Linked DNA regions of Homo sapiens: all the other regions are linked to region 2. Evidence: promoter capture Hi-C in 16 types of primary human blood cells and fetal thymus (Javierre and others, 2016). All regions are on one chromosome and are shown on one strand. Each heading gives the region's core, a stretch centred on a gene start or on the middle of the fragment in contact. The rest is flanking DNA. Distances are from core to core; before and after follow the strand shown. Region 1 overlaps TXNL4B (thioredoxin like 4B). Region 2 holds the start of ZNF23 (zinc finger protein 23). Region 3 overlaps DHODH (dihydroorotate dehydrogenase (quinone)).

What was found. Contacts are between HindIII fragments. The CHiCAGO score rates a contact against its expected background, and 5 or more counts as called.
Region 1: a fragment that was not itself captured here is called in contact with the fragment with the promoter of ZNF23 in region 2 in 1 of 17 cell types (total CD8 T cells); the score reaches 5.0 in total CD8 T cells.
Region 3: a fragment that was not itself captured here is called in contact with the fragment with the promoter of ZNF23 in region 2 in 1 of 17 cell types (naive CD4 T cells); the score reaches 5.4 in naive CD4 T cells.

The regions. Positions count from the first base shown.
Region 1 is chr16:72,085,930-72,089,787 of GRCh38, forward strand. It overlaps TXNL4B (thioredoxin like 4B), which reads right to left. Exons shown (of 4, transcript NM_017853.3): 3 at 3,058-3,209; 4 at 1-873. The coding sequence ends at 708. Among named protein-coding and RNA genes, the nearest start is that of TXNL4B, 5.8 kb to the right of the region's middle. The HindIII fragment of the contact is 1,563 bases long and covers 1,097-2,659 here.
Region 2 is chr16:71,460,305-71,464,090 of GRCh38, forward strand. It overlaps ZNF23 (zinc finger protein 23), which reads right to left and starts at 1,943. Exons shown (of 5, transcript NM_001381984.1): 1 at 1,906-1,943. It overlaps LOC124903709 (a long non-coding RNA gene), which reads left to right and starts at 2,008. Exons shown (of 2, transcript XR_007065105.1): 1 at 2,008-2,988; 2 at 3,629-3,786. RefSeq lists enhancers at 1,542-1,631, 1,902-2,061. The HindIII fragment of the contact is 7,082 bases long and covers 1-3,786 here.
Region 3 is chr16:72,011,059-72,014,584 of GRCh38, forward strand. DHODH (dihydroorotate dehydrogenase (quinone)) reads left to right here. Exons shown (of 9, transcript NM_001361.5): 2 at 992-1,204; 3 at 3,415-3,526. Among named protein-coding and RNA genes, the nearest start is that of DHODH, 4.1 kb to the left of the region's middle. The HindIII fragment of the contact is 3,701 bases long and covers 1-3,314 here.

The DNA.
Region 1 (3,858 bases), core at 628-3,127, 630 kb after region 2:
GAGGTGGAGCTTGCAGTGAGCCGAGATCGCGCCACTGCACTCCAGCCTGGGTGACAAGAGTGACTCGGTCTCAAAAAAAAAAAAAAAAATTAAATGAGCCAACCAGGACAATGTTTAAAAGCCAGAGCCAAAAAGGCTCCAAAATAAAACAAACTTGTCTGCTCAATTAATTATTTGAAGAGAACCTACAGTAATACAGACTGGAGATGGGAAAGCACGAGGGATGTATGAGTCGAGGAACCGGCAAAGGGGTGTGGGGGTGTGTGTGTGTGTGTGTGTGCACACACATGCACCCAGCTAGGGTAGAAAATAAGTACTTTTGCTTCTATGGGAAGTGACTTTCCAGTTCACTTGTGTATCAAATGAACATGATGAAATCAAGTTGTACTAGCCAATGTTTGGGAGGGTTCTGTATTAAAGGGATAAAGAAAAACATTAGAAAGAGAAGTTACAAAAATCACTGTGGGGAAAATGAACACCAATGACTTGGCTGCTCTGAGGCTTGCAGGGAGTAGACAGTTAGGCATCCCAGGTCATCAGAGAACCAGTGGGGTCTTTTCCTCAGGGGCCGGGTTTTCTACACGCAAGTCAAACCTCTTCTCCTCTGGGACACATGTTTCCAAAGGACTCCAGAAACACAGCACAGCTGGATTCAGGTACTGTGTCAAGATGTGCCTTCTTCTTCATCTTTGACAGCAATTAATGTACTAAATGTCTTGATAGAGAAGGTCATATTTGGGAATATTCTTGGGATCAATAGGACTTTGGACAATAAGCTTCCCCCTCATTGCTCCTCGATAGATTACTTCAATCAAATCTATGAAGTCTTGTTTGGTTTTGAAGCTTCCCACAAACTTAGTGTGATCTGGAGATCTAGACAGCATAGAAGAGAAACAACTGCTCTAAGAACTTTGAGTAATCACTTGTTGAAGACTTTCAGGATAAACAAAATGAAAAACAGCTTTGTTATTTTCTTCTTGTCAATGAGACTTCAGAAATAAAGCCCAACATTAATTTTTCAATCATTTTTTTCCATTTAGTAAATGACTCAACCCAGTGCTGTGGGCCACTAGCATGAAAGCTCTGTCATGTGCAAAGCTTTAGCTTCAAAAGCTATTGTAATCACAAAATCTATTTTTATCACTTCTCAAATCATCAAGCAGATTTCACCAAGTGTTGGAGTGCACATTGTTTCTTCGTTTGCTGTTGTTGCTTTTGCCTGGGCATTGTGCAAAGCCCATTCAATATTCATGGCCTTTTGAGTGGTAGGTATTAAAAAATTGATTTTTTAGAAAAGTATCTCAAACACCAGGTATGTTACTGTAAAAATTTTAAAGAAATAAATAAAATCACGGATGAGGCCAGAGGTCACTTTTCAGTGTCTATCCTTCCAATCTTGTGTGTGTGTGTGTGTGTGTGTGTGTGTGTGTGTGTGTGTGTATGTGCAGATACAAACTTCTTTTTTCCCAACATTGGGAATTATGTCATACAAATTATTCAGTAATATGCTTTTTTCTAGCTGACATATATTTCTTTCATTTGTTAAATGTGCATCTGCAACATCATATTAAAGTCCTGGAAGTGTAATTACTGGGTTAAAAAGTTTAAAAACTTTAAACTATTTGATACATAATGTTGAACTGGCCCCCATAAAAGGTTGTACCAAATTAATACTTACATCAAATGTGTTCCAGTAGAATAAACAGCTTTAAAATACTTTTGTGTTTTTTTTTTGTTGTTGTTGTTGTTGTTTTGCGATGGAGCCTTGCTCTGTCACCAGACTGGAGTGTAGTGGTGCGTTCTCTGCTCACTGCAACCTCCACCTCCTGGGCTCAAGCGAATCTCCTGCCTCAGCCTCCTGAGTAGTTGGGATTACAGGCACCCACCATCATGCCTGGCTAATCTTTTTTTTGAGACGGCAGCTCTGTTGCCCAGGATGGAGTGCAGTGGCGCGCTCTCGGCTCACTGCAAGCTCCGCCTCCTGGGTTCATGCCATTTTTCTGCCTCAGCCTCCAGAGTAGCCGGGACTACATGCGCCCGCCACCACGCCCAGCTAATTTTTTGTATTTTTAGTAGAGACAGGGTTTCACTGTGTTAGCCAGGATGGTCTCGATCTGCTGACCTCATAATCTGCCTGCCTCGGCTTCCCAAAGTGCTGGGATTACACGCGTGAGCCACTGCGCCTGGCCATGCCTGGCTAATTTTTGTATTTTTAGTAGAGATGGGGTTTCACTATGTTGGCCATGCTGGTTTTGAACTCCTGACCTCAAATGATCCGCCTGCCTTGGCCTCCCAAAGTGCTGGGATTACAGGCGTGAGCCACTATGCCCAGCCTAAAACACTTTAAAACAGATAATATTTCACATACTTTCAAATAAAGACAAAAAGGGTACACAGATCTAGATAAGTGGACACATCAACCACAGTAAGAAATGATCAGAATCATGGATGCACCCAATCATCAATATTAAGTATTGAGATGGTAATTGGATGGAGTGGAAGGCACTAAAGAGGACATCATGTTACTTATTCTTGACAGGCTTTGTTGAAGAATGATTTAAAATTCAATGGCGAAAAGCAGGAAACTTTGCAAGAGAGAAGCACATCTTAGTTTGCTAGAAGGAATGTTTCTTTCATAAATGCCACTTACCAGTCCAAAAGCTTAAGAAAAACTACATGTTTTGTTTCAAATGAAATTCCTGGGAAAATTTTAAGAGTTCTTTATTTAGCTAATATGGCTATTTTATATTTTATAGACTTATGGATGGTAGTGCTTTGCCACCTGTACTATTTCTTCATACTTAAGTCGGAAATTAAAATTTGACAAACCATGTGTATGCACTATTAAAAAAATAAATAAAATTTGACAATCATACCAGAAGCACTCTCATTTTGTAGCAAGGTTTTGCATAAAAAATTAGAGAGTGCGTCAATTGGGGAAACAGTACTGATATAAGACTCACAGAGCCAACATCACATGGAAATAGGCAAGCTACTGAAAATGCTTACCAAGGAAACTTACAAGGTTGCAATTAACTTCAGATCAACTGCACTTACCCATAATCCACTTTCATATGCTGCCCATTGAAGAAAAAGACAGTAGATGGAATATAACTGATGTCAAAATACTGTGTATAAACTGCAGTTTGGTCCACATCTACCAGGTATATAGCAGCCATTTTACTTAAGTCAGAAGAGGTCTTAGAAAGCTGCAAATGACGAGAGAGACAAAGGTTACAATATGAGAGGCAGCTTAATGTTTCTTCTGTGAAACTTGTTACTACAACAGAGTGTTTTGTTTGAAAAAACTCCTGGGCCAACAATGCAGCCCATGTGGCTCCCACATTAGACAAAGCATAACCCCATCCTCCAGAGTCTCATTCACTGCAACGGGGTTAGGAGGGAATCTTGGGGAAAACTGTATGAGGTTAGGAAGGGACCTTGGGGAAAACTGTGTGAGGTTAGAAGGGGACCTTGGGGAAAACTGTGTGAGTTTAGGAGGGTGACAGCATGGGAGTATTCCTGTCTATTCATTGTGGAGAGAGACCTAACCCAGAACTAAGACCTCTACCCGCCATTTCTACTGCTGCCATCCCGTGTTAAGAGCTGAGCATACAAATCCTTGGGGAAAACTGTGTGAATCTATTTCTTCCTTTAATTTCTTTCTTTGAATGCTTTTATAAAAGTAGCCCATGCTCATTTAAAACAACACAACTTAGAAATATGTTATGTGGATACTGAAATTCCCTAACGTCTCCTTCCTCCCAATCCTCCCAGAAATGAAAACCACGATAATTAGTAGCAGACACTTATATAACATTACTATGTGGTAACTGTCCTAAGTGCTTAACATTTGTT
Region 2 (3,786 bases), core at 693-3,192:
TCCCAAGGGGATAGTTTTTTTTTTTAAATACGATTCCAGGTTTTTTCCTGTTATGACATTATATAGATTTTCTACATAATCCTTGATTACTTTTACCTAATTAAACCAAGATGGCCAGTGAAGAACTAACTCTCACAAAACACTGAGCTCAGATGTGTCATGAGCAAATTCTTTCAATGTTTCGGAAATGAGTAATTCTAACACTATGTAAACCGTAGCAGAGCACAGCAAAGTAAGTTTCCCAATTCTTTTTATGGTGCCAGCACAATACTGATGCAAAAACTACAGACCAGTCTCATTTATGAATTCTAATGCAAAAATTCTATCAAGGAATAGACTCCAATAGTTCATTAAATACATCATGAGTAAGTAGGATTATCCCACGAAGATACTAATTAGTATATTTTTCACATTAATAAATCAAAGAAAGATAAACACACTGTCCATCTCAACAGATGCCAAAGATGTTTAACATAATTCAACATTTGTGCCTAATTTTAAAAACTTACACACTAGAGAAACTCTCATATGTAGGAAGTACGTACAAAAATATTATCAGCACATTTTAATAACAAAACACTGAAAACAACCCACATGTCCATTGAAAATACATCGATAAATTTTCATACAGTTTTTACAATGGAACATTACCCAGAAGCTACACACAGAATGAATTTGGAAACTTAACATTGAATTATGCGAGTCCCAGATGACTTATACACACAATGGTGCCATTTATATGAAGCTCAAAAAAAAAATTTAAGTACATTGCTTACAGATACATGCATATGTAATTATTTTTTAAAATAACAGGGCTACAATTAACACAAAAGTCAATATAACTGTTACCTCTAGGGGTTGGAGGCTGGGAGTTGGGTTGAGGAGGAGGAACACATTGATAAATTCAGCAGTACTGGCAATCTTCTCTTTCTTAATTGGGTGGTGTGTTCATGGATGTTTACTACTATATATGTAACATATAAATATATATTTTAAATAAATATATAAACCAGCAAGGATGGGGTGAAATTGAGGACCCAAAATGTAATACAAAGAACAGCCAATGTGCTTAACTATACTACAGTGAACATAACCACACTTAAGTGGTAGGAAAGAAAAGGGGTAAGCAACTTTGGAAAACAGTATTTTGACTAAATACCATAAGAGTAAAGACAAAAAGACCTGTATCCAAGTACTGTACTTTAGGTAGTAAATTTGCTTTTCATGGGGGTATGAATTAGCGATTCTGAGACTACTAAATATATTCTAAAACTGAGTGAATTCGTAATTACGTTGTAGAAGTCATTCCCAGGTCACTGTCAACCCTGAGCCGAGAGAAGCAGGGCTGAGTTACCTTTTGGGACTGACACTGCTCCAGGAGACAATGTCCTCCAAAAGCCGGGCTGCTTCTGCTGCCGGGTGACTGGGAGGGGCTCTGCGCTCCCACTCGGCCCTAATTCATGACCCTATGTCAGGAGCCTGGGAGCACACGGTCCATACTCGGGATGCACATAGGTTAATGTTCCTGCCAGACCTCAGCATGTCAAAAGACTTGTGGTATCACCTCGGGCCGCTTCACGCCCGCAAATATTCCATCTTTTAGCTGCACCGACACATCTTCCCCCGTCGACCAAGTGCTAAATGCTCAGGGCCTCGTGGCTGGGACAGCAACGTGCGTTTCCCCTTCCAATGGGCGCAAGCTATTGAGCCACAAAGACCAAAGCTGGAGTCGAGGAGCGCGGAAGAGCACCCCGGGCCGCCGCCCTGCTCCCTCTCCCAGCCTGGGCCTCCTGGCAGCGTAGGCCACGGGAGACCCTGCAGCACCCAGGGTGGGAGTGCGTCTCAACCGGACCCAGAGCCTGGGGGACAGGGCACGGCACACAGCGCCCGGAGCCCTGCACTCACCTCCGTAGCGGACTGCTCCCCGGCGCTGCCGGAAGTGCGTCACCAGGCGGCCGGGCCTCTCTAGGAGCAAGGTCGCTGCGCCTCGGTGGTGGTCACGCCCGGCCAGCTGTGGCCGCATCCCTGTCGGCTAGCTCGGGTCTGGCCCACGGTGACTGTTACCCCTGGGGAATGGGGCAGGTAAGAATCAGAGCCAAGCGGGGACCCAGCCCGGGGAGGTGAAGCTGCAGGTGCAGCCACGTGTGGGAGTCTTGGAAATGGACCAGTGGATGGCGCGCTGTCACACCCAATGCCCCCTTTTTCTAACAAATAGTTTGTAATGTCCATCTTATTCTCCTGACCTGATATTCATATATAATGGCCTAGAAAATCATACATAACATACACACCTACATATTAAAAACTAATGTTATGCCTTAAGTGTAATGAAAGAGAAAAAAAAGAGGACCGTCATCTGTCGTTTAAAAACACATACTTCAATGTGTTTGGTCTTGGCTGCTGCAGGAGACCTAATAAGGTGGTCGCCTTTACACATAGACGTTGTCTGAGTGCCACAGCCACAAAGCTGTGACTTACATTGTTGCAAAAGTCACAAAATTATGATCCAAAATGGCAAACATGTTTTCGTGAAGTTCTGAATGAAACACAGGACAATCGTCTCTTGATTATACAATAATTACATTCCTGGAAGATCAGTGTATGTTAAAACTGTGCAAAAATACATGTTTATCCAGAAAACAGGTTTAGATTCAGATAATTTAGAAATAGAATTTTCACCTACCTGAATGTTCAGCAAGACATTTGAAAGTGTGAACATTTTTTCAGTGGGCAGGACTGTCCTGTACATTGCAGGATCCTGGCTCCTATCCACAACGCTAGTAGCAATGTTACCACTGACACCAAATATAACAAAATACCTACCATAAAATTCCAAAATGAGCCCTGGGGGAAGGGAGACAGTACTAAATGCCACTGGATTGGACGACCCTTAAAATCCCCACCCCCTCACACACCCCCTAACCCTGGTAATGTGGGCTTTTCTTCCTTCCAGCTCTGATCCATCCAACGCTGCTGCACTGGAGACTGGTATTTGGCTCCCACTTGCCTCTGTGGCTTCTTATCACTCCCATTCATTCCCTGACTCTACCTCAGCCCTACATGCTAAAAATGCTGTTCTCTAAATCTAGAATGCCCTTCCCTTCCCATTCCTACCCTCCATCTTGACTGTTACTGGAAGTGTGAGCTCAAATCCCATTTTGCATGGGAAGCAAGCCTTCCCTCATCACCCAGAATAAGGCAGGACACTCATTTATGTGCCATCACAGCACTGTGTACTTACTTAATGGTGATAGTTTATTTATATGTCTGTCTTCTCTGGTGGCTGCAGGGAACAGACACTGTATCTATCTTGTTCAACATCATCATCCTCAGCTAGAGAATAACTGGCAGAAAGAAGGAGAGCAATAAACATTTGTTGTTGACAATGGTCCAAAGGCTCCAGCCCTAACTCTTAGGCAGAAGCCTACTTTGTGTGTCCCCAAGGGTAGGATATGTCTTATGCCTTGGACCTTGACAGTGACCATGGCCAGGTGCCCTTCTCTGCCTTGCCCTGACCCTGATCTTCACTGTTTTCCAAAATGAGTTCATTAAGAAAATGATTGGGCAGAGTAATAGCTGGGGATTACGTTGCTCTTGTCAATAAGTTCTGGTTTTCACTTCTTTCTAGGGTCAGAAATCAGGAGTGAGGACTTGTTGAAAGAAATAGGAAGGAATCAGATCACATAAATGCTGGCCCCAAATGTTTGCATCATAAACCCATTGCCTAATTTTACAGTTGAGAAAATAAAGCTCTCTAAATAACCACAAAGCTCCTACTCCTACTTC
Region 3 (3,526 bases), core at 214-2,713, 550 kb after region 2:
CCCTAACTGGAATATAAAGGAGAAAATGTAAAAGTAGTTTATATTAATAATAAAATTACATGTATTTCAGTATGTAAATATTGCTATGACTCCCCTAGTGAGATAGTTGTGTTTAAGTCTCTACTTAGAAATGCAGGTACACAGGTGTGTTACATATCAGGCACCCCAGGAAAGCACTGTACCATTCCCGATGAGATTTTCTGAAATGGTGAACAATTCTTGGGAATGTTCTATGTGAAACTGTACAGTTGTCCCTCAATTTACAAGATATTTGTACTGTATGTGAAAACCATGTAGAGGCTGGGCACGGTGGCTCATGCCTGTAATCCCAGCACTTTGGGAGGCCAAAGCAGGAGTACTGCTTGAGCCTAAGGGTTCAAGACCAGCCTGGGCAACATAAAGAGGCTCTATCTCTTCAAAAAATTGGCTGGGCTTGGTGGCATGTGCCTGTGGTCCCAGTTACTTGGGGAGGCTGAGGAGGGGAGGATTGCTTGAGACCAGGAGGTCAGGAAAGACAGTTTGTGTTTATGTGGTAAAATATAGTTTGGCTTAGATAATATGAACGGATAATTTTTACCCACACAAATGTCAGAATGTTCAAAAGTCACACAGGAAATGGGGCAGTTCATGTCAGATAGTCTCAAGCCAAGAAGGATGTCTGACTTTATGGATTCCTGCCCACCACATCTATTAGCATTACCCTGTCACTGTAACCAGTAGCAGTGTCCACCACGATCACCCTAGGGGACAGTACTGTCCCTCTTTAAATTTCTGGCCTGGAGTCCCAGGACAGCCTTTAGGGCCTGAAGAAGGTGTGTAGGCAGAAGTATAGATACAGCCTCTGACTGTAGAGACCAGTGTCAGCGGAAGGCTAAGGGCGTCTGTTTCATGTGACCTGCCGTTATGCCCTCTGTGTACCTGGGTGTGAAGGGCTCAGGAAGGGTGCTGCAGCCTGGCCTGGGGGACCCCCCTAATATGCTCTTTTTTGCAGAAGCGGGCCCAGGATGCTGTGATCATCCTGGGGGGAGGAGGACTTCTCTTCGCCTCCTACCTGATGGCCACGGGAGATGAGCGTTTCTATGCTGAACACCTGATGCCGACTCTGCAGGGGCTGCTGGACCCGGAGTCAGCCCACAGACTGGCTGTTCGCTTCACCTCCCTGGGGCTCCTTCCACGGGCCAGATTTCAAGACTCTGACATGCTGGTAGTGCTCCCAGACACCCTATACATTAAATACAAAGGCGAAGGCTGCAGTCCCCTAAACTTCTCAGCTGGGACTGATCTTTTTGAAAACCAGAACCCCAAGTGAGCAGTGGGGATTTGGAATTCAGTCTGAGCATTATTATTTTATGTCATGTAATTAGCAACGATGATTATCTATTACGTATATGGGATTGTGTTAGGCGGTGTTCTTGTTTGATCCTCCCAGCTGCTCCATGAGCTGGATCCTGTTACCATCCCCAGCCATGGATCAGGAAACTGAGGAACAGATTAGCAACATAAAGGAACTCAAGTCACACAGCTAGGAGGTAGCAGGACCAGGATTCAAACCCACAGAGTCTGACGCTGGCTTCCCGCCCCTTGGCCACTGTCCTGCCTTGCTGAGGTCGTGGGTAGCTCAGTCTTCCCCTCAGCTAAATGGGGAAGCTGCCAGAGTCATTAAGCACTGGTGAGAGGCAGGAGCATCGTGTCCCAGCCTCACTCAGCCACGTGTTCAGCACACGGGCCCTCTCCATATGCTTGAAATCTTTGGCCTAGAGTCCCAGGAAAGCCTCTAGGGCAGGAAGAGGGTGTGTAGGCAGAAGTGTAGATACAGCCTCTGACTGCAGAGGCCAGTGTCAGCGGAAGGCTAAGGGCCTCTGTTTCATGTGACCTTCCGGGCTTAGTGCAGCAAACCGAATAAAAGAGTCCCCATCCTCATGGAAGCTGCTTCCTCATGGAAGCCTTGGCAGTTTCCTTTCGAGAGGCTTCTTACCAAATGGGAGGACATCAGAATGATGAGTGTGAAAATGCAAACAAGAAGCCCTCAGAACTCTGGTGGGAAGGGTCACTGTTATAAATTAAAGGGGCCTTCACCGCATTTTCTCTTCCTACCTTAGACTCCTCTTCACTATCTGATTATATGGTGTTGAGCAGACGTGTCATTTCCCCTGACTGGCCATGCTCACACACTAACAGGCACTGTAGGCTCAGAAAGAGCACTCCGTTAAGGTGTCCTCACCTCAGACTGCTAGTTTGAGAGCCCTGGAACCAGTGTAAAATGGGAGTGAATAATGAGTGGGGTGCAGAGATGGGGTGAATTTAGAAGGAAGTGCGGGGTGCCTGAGGGTGCAAGCTGTGTCTGTATAAACACAGATGACAGAGACAGGCAAACCTGACCTCTGAGGTGTTGTCCTCAACACCTCTGCGTGGGCCCACACTTGCAGCAGCTCATTTAGAATGTGACTCAGACTTTTTAACCGGTAACCAGGATTCTTGATTTCACAACTTTCCTGGTTTGGCTCTCCACCCTTCACCTATGTCAGGCATGTTAGAATCCCCCGGGGGTGCACTTGGAATATTCAGATGCCCTGGCCTGGTGCCAGACCAGTTTCACCGCCACATCTGAGAGCAGGACCTGAAAGCTGCCAGGGGCCTTTGTGGTGCAGCTGGAGCTGAGAACCACGGTCCTGGAGGAAGGCCCCTACACATCTTGCCTACCAGTCTCCTGAGGTGCTGTGAGCATTCTCACCTTCATTTGTTGCTCTTCCTTCTTGGAGCATCTCTCTTAATCCCCTGCTTCCAGGATCCGACCGTGTTCACCCCGGGAGGCCTTTGCTAGTCTCCTGAAAGGTCGCTGGAGCCCATCAGTCAGTTCTGCCCAGCTGAACATCTTCCTTCCTCTGGTTCCCCGTGGGAGGCTGGGGGACGTGGCTGGGGCTTCTTGCCAGCCCGGATGAGGAGGGACACAGCTGGAGCTGATGTTTATTAAGCTGATTAAAGGGTTTTGCTGCTTGACACGCCTTGGTTTCAGGGAAGCACTATCTAGGGCCTGACACCAGCGAGCTACTCCCTCCCACCAAGGCTAGTTGATAAGAAGGTATGAACCTTAACCACAATTGGAAAAGACAGTGCTCGTCTCCGCTTCAACCCACGGTGGAAACACCATTTCTCCCCCCAGGCTTGCTAATAATAAAGCCCCGTGGTTTTCAAACTCTAGCTGGTGTCACAGTCCCCTGGAGAGCCAGCACTGTTAAAAATAGTTCCCCCAGTGCTCCATTCCACCCCCAAAGATTTTGACCTTGGGGGTGGGCCCTGGGATCTGAGGTTTCACAAGCTTCCCAGGTCATTCTGATGTAGCTGTGCCAGGAACCATGCTTTGAGAAATACCGGGATAGCCTTAGCGTGCCTCTGACTTTGTCTTCCTCTTCCCAGGAAGTGAGAGTTCTGGGCCATAAATTCCGAAATCCAGTAGGAATTGCTGCAGGATTTGACAAGCATGGGGAAGCCGTGGACGGACTTTATAAGATGGGCTTTGGTTTTGTTG